Linked DNA regions of Homo sapiens: region 2 is linked to region 1. The links are contacts of gene promoters, found by promoter capture Hi-C in blood cells and fetal thymus (Javierre and others, 2016). All regions are on one chromosome and are shown on one strand. Each heading gives the region's core, a stretch centred on a gene start or on the middle of the fragment in contact. The rest is flanking DNA. Distances are from core to core; before and after follow the strand shown.

Region 1 (3,671 bases), core at 756-3,255:
GCGCGTGCCTGTGGCTGGCATTCTCTAGAGCTGCCTTCCTTCACCAGGGATTGCTCCGGGTAGCTGTGTTGGCAGACTGAGCCACGTCCTCATTTCTGCTAAGGATTTGCCTGGTCTTTTTCCTGAGTTATACTCTATCTCTACCTATCTCTTCCTATGTGGCCAGCCCCTGTATGCGCCTCCCCTTTGCTGGTGGCTCCAGGCCATGGTCTAGACAGCGCTGTCCATTAGAACTTTGTGCAGCGATGTTTACGTCCATTCTGCACTGACCAGTGTGGTAGCCATTAATCATGTGTGGCCACCGGGCATTTGGAATGTGGAATCTGGAATAACGGTGCAGCTGAGGAACTGAACTGTTAATTTTATTTATTTCAATTCAGTGTCATGCAGTGAGTGGCCACCAGATTAGACAGGGTCAGGCCTTCTCCCCTTTCTTCCTGGGCCTTCCCACTTTCCTCTTCTGCCTGGGTTGGACTGCCTTTACCCAAGCTTGTCCTGTGACCTCTCTCTGTTGACAGTGGCTTCCAAAGAGGCTGGCATGGGGCACTCATCTCTTCTGCTCAGTCTGTGTCCTCCCACTCCCTGATCTGACCCCGTGCCACCTTCTGGCTCTGCCAGCCTCTACCTGGTTCCTGTAGTGCCGCACAGAGCCTCCCTTTCCCGGCACAGCCTCCCTTTCCCGGCATAGCCAGCTTTCTTCAGGGTCCTGCCAGGAAGGGCCGCCCCCCCAACATTTCCAGATTGCCTCTGTCCCTCCACTCTGGGGTGCCTGGAAGGACTGTCCAGGACCCAGAGAGCAGGCAGAGCCCTGGATTCCTATCCTGGAATCCTCCCCCAGGATGAAGAAGCTCTGCCTGCCTGAACCCTCCAGCGATGGGCCTGGAGTCCTGTCCCTGTCCTTTCCTTAATCCCCAGCCTCTGGATCTTCCAGTCACCCCGGCTTTGCCCACCCTCACCCCATTTAGAAGCTGGGCTCGCTAGGAAACTGCTCCCTTAGCATCTGCAGAACTTCCTCAAGAAGTGAAATCCCCAGGTCCACTTTGAAGGAGAGGAAGGGATCACTGAGGTCTGGGGTAGGTGTCCTCTGGAAGCAGGGAGTGTCCACAAGGCCCTTCTCTGAGTGCTGGTGGAGGGCACTCGACAGAGAGAGCGCCGATGGCAGGGTGGCAGAGTAGGCTGCTGTGTAGGCAGGTGGGGGCTCCAGGATGTTGGGGCAGCTTGAGCTCTCTCGGTAGAGGCGTGGGGGCTTGGGTGGGGCCAGCAGGGTGGCCCGGGGCTGCTCGTCCCCCCACAGTGGCAGGCGCCGGCCATCTGGCCTCCCTTGTAGCTCCCGGATGACTTCTCGGTTGCTGTACTCCTCGTGGTCCCCACCTGCTGTGCTGGCCTGGCTAAGCACACTACTCTGTCGCCGGAGCCGCCGTGGCCGCCCCAGGCTCAGCTGCTTGAAGAAGGAGGCGTTGCGGAAGGAGCCTTTCCGCCAGGTCTCCATGGGGCCCAGGGGAGCCAGCAGACAGGTGTTCAGGAGCAGCCAGGGTGCATGTGGTCCCTGCTGGGGCAGTGAGTGCCAGCAGCTGGGGAGGCTCCCCTAGGAGCAGAGGCCTCAGGGTTTCCACTCAGCACAGACCTTTGACCACATCTTGGATGGTGAGAGGAGGGCTCAGGAAGAAGGAACTTTTTTGCCCAGGAGAGCAGACAGCTGGGAGTTCCTGGCAGCAAGAGTTTCCCACAGGGACAGGAGTGGCCTGGTTACTGAATAGGGTAGTGGAAAAAAACCCAGGAGGAAGAAGCAGCACTTACTGGAGCCAGAATGAGGGCAGCTCCGGCGGAGGCAGAGGTGGACCTTCTCGGGCTGGGTGAGGCTGGCGAGCGCTCCTTCCACAGGCAGGCAGCAGATGGCCCGAGCTCACTCGCCCTGGTGTTTGCCTGGCTCCTATATGTCTCTGGGGCAGTGTGGGGCCGTGCCCTCTCTGCCAGTGGCTCCCGGACTCTGATGAGTGGCCTGGCTGTTTGTGGCGGTGGAGATGTGTTTTTGTTCTCAGCTGACTCAGTCAGGTGGGAAGCCAGGTTTCGTGCTCTTGGGTAATTGCAGCATCCGCGTGCAGGGATGGGGCAGCTGGGACCAACACCCCAGGGCAATGGGGAGCTTAAGATTCCTCTGGGGACTCGTGTGGGGGCAGCCCTGCTTTATGTGTCACCACGCGGCTTCCTTTCTGATCACAGCCCCACCACCCTGGGCCCCCAGCAGGTGCGCCTGGCTCCCTGCCCACAGTGTCTGGGTAGGAAGAGTTCGGGGCGGGTGGGAGTTAATTGAAAGGCAGGCGTGTGGAACGATTGTTGGGGAAGGAAGAGACCTGTAGCTGGTATGGGTGACTCAGCCCCGCTGTCAGGCCCTCACGAGCAGGAACAGGAAGGGGGGCAGAGGGTGTGTTAATGGGGAGCAGCGCCATGCCTGTGATGGGCGGGCTCTGCTGCCCAGGGTTGGGCTGGGGGCCCGCCAAGGGTGGCTCCAAGTTTTCTTGGCAGAGCAGCATTAACCTGGGGATGGGAGATGTGGCCTCCTCTTGGCCTGCCATCAGCCTGGCTGCTATTTCCTTGTCCTCCCTTGTTTTACCCTAGAGGGCTCCTGCCAGGAGAGCGGCTGCTGAAGGCCGGGCCGTGTTGCCTCCTACCTGGCTGTGCTCCAGCCCTTCCCCTCTGGCTACCGGGCTTCCTCTGGGGTCCTCCTTCTCTTGCAGGAGGCTGGGCCAGGGAGGCTGCCGTGAATTGTCAGCCGTGCTCTGGGCCAGGCTTAGCAGTCCGGCCTAGCTGGGACTGCTGCAGCCGGGGAGAGGGGAGGGGTGCAGCCATCGGGAGGAACAGGGGAACCCAGGCTGAGTAACACTTCCTGTTTCTCTACACCCCTTACTCCAAACCTGCTGGCCAGGGCCTGGCATCTCAACCCTAGCTGCTCCCTTCCTATTCCCCGGGTCACTGACCACCACATTTTCCTCCTGCCTTGCTCTGTGACAGCGTCCCCATGCGGGGTACCGCGGATCAGGGCCCCACAGCTCTCTGCTACGGGCAGGCCACCGCATCTTGCAATCCCTGGCCTAGCTCACTTCTGTGCCAACTCAGGTGTGCTTCACACTTCTCTGAGAAGCTGTTGGGACCACATGATCATCACACAGCCTAAGCGGCACCGAGGGAGGAAAAGGTTTAATTCCCACCGCAGACCTTATCAGGGCGTGGGTTGGCAGCTTAGGTCCCGCTGTAGAGCTGCTTCTCCACCCTACAGCCTTGGCCCATTCAGATGGTTGTTTATTATTCTTTTGATTATGGGCCCTGCCCTCCAGGAGCCCTGGTGTGTAGTTTTAGAGGCACGCTGGCCTCATGCTTGCCTTTTTCCCCTTCGAGGGTGGGGCATTCCGGGCTGCCTCGGGTAGGGCTCCCTTCTGCATCCTCAGCAAGAGCCAGACCACAGGGCACCGGGCATAGAGAGTGCCAGGGTCAGTGCCCAGCAGAGCCAAGTGCATCCCTGCTCCTCAGACAACTTCCCTTCCTTGGGAACCTAAGAGGCAGAAGCTACGGGGTAGAGGGAAAGGGGTGAAGGGTAAAGGGCCCAGAGGAAATGAAGGGAGACGAGGGCCTGGCTTAGAGGGCCCGCAGGTGATTCCTGAGAAACAGATGGACCG
Region 2 (3,671 bases), core at 777-3,276, 270 kb after region 1:
GAGAAAGACTGGATTCAAAAGATGAATACTTATAATCTTTTTATATACTAAAACTCACATTTATAGAAAAATGGTGACTCATTCTATGGCAGACTCAGTCTAGGTGATGACCTCAGTGATGAAATAGAATATTGTTCTGAGTGAAATTACCATAACAATAATAAATCATATTTATAGGGCTCCAGAGCAGTGCTGTACAATAGAAATGTAATGTGAGTCACATATATAATTTTAAATTTCTAGTAATCACATTTAAAAAGTAAAAAGGAACAGGTGAAATTAATTTTAGTAATGTATTTTATTTAACCCAGTATATCCAAAATATTATCGTTTCAACATGTATTCAATACAGAAAAACTGAGAAATTTTACATTTTTTCCCACTAAGTATTCAAAATCCAGTGTATTTTTTACACTTATAAAACATCTCAATTCAGACTAGCCATATTCCAAGTTCAATAGCTACATGTGGCTAATGGCTGCTGTATCAGACAGTATAGTTCTAAAGTATTCATCCACAGTTTCATTTAATCTTTGCAGAAATATTTTGCCATAGGTATTATTATTCACATTTTGCACATAATGTTTTCACAGAAATAAGGTAAAGACACACAGCCATAATGGAAGAGCAAGGGCTTGAATGCAACTTAGCTGATAACCAGTGTATCCCAAGGTTACGTGGATTGATGTCAAGTCCAACAGAACTAGCTTCAAATCCTGGCTCTGACATTTATTAGCTGTGTTACCTCAGGCACATTTTTTCACTCTGACACATGGTTTCATTATGGAAAATGTTGATAAGAACCCTAATTGGCCAGGTGAGTGGTTCTCATCTGTAATCCCAGGGACTCAGAAGGCTGAAGCAGGAGAATCACTTGTGCCCAGGAGTTTGAGACCGGCCTGGGCAACATAGCAAGACCTGTCTCTACAATAATTTTTAAAAAAAGGCTGGGCGCGGTGGCTCACGCCTGTAATCCCAGCACTTTGGGAGGCTGAGATGGGCGGATCACCTGAGGTCAGGAGTTGGAGACCAGCCTGGCCAACATGGTGAAACCCCGTCTCTACTAAAAATTTAAAAATTAGCCAGGTGTGATGGTGCACGCCTGTAATTCCAGCTTTTTGTGAGGCTGAGACAGGAGAATTGCTTGAACCCAGAAGGTAGAGGTTGCAGTGAGCCGAGATCACACCACTTCACTCCAGCCTGGGTGACAGAGTAAGACTCTGTCTCAGAAAAAAACCCCAAAAAACAAAAAACTTAGCTGGACATGATGACATACACGTGTAGTCCCAGTTACTCGGGAGGCTGAGGTGGGAGGATGATTTGAGCCCAGGAGTTTGAGACCACATGAGCTATCATCACACCACTGCATTCCAGCTTGGGTGACAAAGACCCTGTCTCTAAAAAAGAAAAAAGAGAAAGAAAAAAAAAAACCTCATAGATTACTGTGGGGTTAAATGGGATCATGCATGCAAAGTGCTCAGCACAGCACCTGCCCCTGGCCAGTGCTCCATGGAAGTGAATGGTTATTGCCTTGGCAACAAGACCCTTTCCACCTTCACACGCTGCTTCCCAGGAGCTTCTCCTTCCATTCCACAAGGGTTCTTTCTCACTATGTGCCAAGAACCAATGTACTGGATGATGGTTCTGACTCCAAGTCTAGCCTCATCCTTCGCATCACAACTGCTTTGTTGTCGTTTTTGGTTAACATATTATCATCTGCCAGTAGCATACAGTATGATGACTTGACAAACTACAAAGCAAACCCAGAAATACGTGAAATCAAACCATACAGTCCAATTCTGAGACCCCCTCCAAAGAGCCCCCTCATGACTTTGGGGATTGCAGGAATACGTGCCACTCAGTGCTCAAACTGCCTGCATCCCTTCTTCAAGCCCTCTGCAATCTGCAAAAGTGAAGGGGGGGAAGCAGTATCCCTAAGCAGGGGCTGGGCATCCTCACAGCCTCCTCCCTGCCTGGCACTGGTATCCTCACCTATCTGCAGTGTGGTAACACGACCCTTTTCCCCCAGAGCCAGGTTGCCCGCAAGCCAGTAATGAAGTGTTTTTTACAACCCTGAAAGAAATACTTTAATAAAGCATGTGGTTGGATTATCGAACCCACAAGTATAAAAATATTGTGGTGCTCACACATGCAATGCATGCTGGTTAGTGACTGCCTCCAAAAATGTTTTACTTGCCATCACAGAGAAACGGGTGTATTGAAGATAAATGTTTTTAAAAGACCGACACGTAATGAAGTGAATCATAGTTCATTCACTCCTTCAACAAATACTGAACCCTACCACGGACCAGATGAGCAGCATGCTGGAGATGCAGTGGTAGGCAAGAAAGACAGAACTGCTGCCTTTGATGACCTCACCTTATAGAGGGGGATATAGACATGCATCAAATATAGAATTACAAGCTGTGGTAAGAGCTACAGAGGAGAAGGACACAGTGATCAGGGAGCAAACCACAGAGATCTGATCTGGTCTGCAGGTCAAAGGAGGCTGCCCAGAAAAGTAATGACTGAGCTGAGGGGGCACAGACTATGTAATAGAATGGGGGTCTAGGGGAGAAGCCTCAGCATAGGGGAGTGTCCAGGGATTATGCTAGGGTCACCTCGGGGTCTGGGATAACAGAACTCTCTATCAAAAACGTCTTTTATCCAGAGGCCCACTGGGTGTCTTGGGAAATGGCAGAGAGGATGCTGGGATTCAAGGTTGGGCTCTGGGGGCCAGGCGCAGTGGCTCACGCCTGTAATCCCAGCATTTTGGGAGGCCAAGGCGGGTGGATCACCTGAGGTCAGGAGTTCGAGACCAGCCTGGCCAACATGGTGAAACCCCGTCTCTACTGGAAATACAAAAATTAGCCAGGTGTGGTAGCACACCCCTGAAGTCCCAGCTACTTGTGAGGCTGAGGCAGGAGAATCACTTCAACCTGGGATGTGGAAGTTCCAGTGAGCCGAGATCACACCACTGCACTCCAGCCTGGGTGACAGAGCGAGACTCCGTCTCAAAAAAAAGGTTGGGATCCTAAATAAGAAAGGTAGAAAAATGCTGCCCCAAACTTCTGAGAGAAGCAAGCTGGGTGGGCAGGAACTCGTCCTAAGGTAGGAGAGCGCTGGGCCACATGAACACCATCTGGAAGAACTAGCTGGTGTCTCGTTCACAAGCCAGACTATTCAAGGTCTGGCCCAGACTCAAGAGAGCTGGGCTTGATGTCAGTGGAGAAACCATCCCTCCTCTCACATTAGCAGAGATGGCAGCTGCAGTTGAATGTCATGAGGGCCAGGGTAGTGGCCCTGTCTCTTTTTGGCAGCCAGAGGCCACAGCAGTAAGAAAAGGGCAGCTATACAGAGTGGTAGACATGGCAGAGGCAGGAGCAGCAAGGGCAGTTTCAGGTGAGAGTGAGTTGGCAGAGTCAGCCCAGTGGAGAGGAGGGGCCCATGGTGCTGAGGTCTCATCCAGTGACTTCAATGTGCTGGGGGCTTGTCTTAGAGATCATGGAATTGTTTTATGTCATTAACTGAGCTGCAGGTTGTCAGATTACGAAAACATGATGTTACAGCTTAGAAAATGTCCAGAATTGGGAGGTAACATGGCTCATAGTCCCTTGAAACAAGTGGCAGTCTCCTGGGGGACATTTTCAACAGCACTGAGTCAGAAGTGC

Evidence for each region. Contacts are between HindIII fragments. The CHiCAGO score rates a contact against its expected background, and 5 or more counts as called.
Region 2: a contact is called between a fragment that was not itself captured here and the fragment with the promoter of C15orf62 in region 1, in 1 of 17 cell types (naive B cells). The highest score is 7.4, in naive B cells.

The regions. Positions count from the first base shown.
Region 1 is chr15:40,768,314-40,771,984 of GRCh38, reverse strand. It overlaps C15orf62 (chromosome 15 open reading frame 62), which reads right to left and starts at 2,005. Exons shown (of 1, transcript NM_001130448.3): 1 at 1-2,005. The coding sequence starts at 1,489. The coding sequence ends at 962. The region is part of intron 10 of DNAJC17 (DnaJ heat shock protein family (Hsp40) member C17); the gene reads left to right. RefSeq lists enhancers at 872-1,488, 1,446-1,535, 1,489-2,107, 2,726-3,344. The HindIII fragment of the contact is 5,370 bases long and covers 492-3,671 here.
Region 2 is chr15:40,497,222-40,500,892 of GRCh38, reverse strand. No RefSeq gene overlaps it. Among named protein-coding and RNA genes, the nearest start is that of CHST14, 28 kb to the right of the region's middle. The HindIII fragment of the contact is 5,436 bases long and covers 1-3,671 here.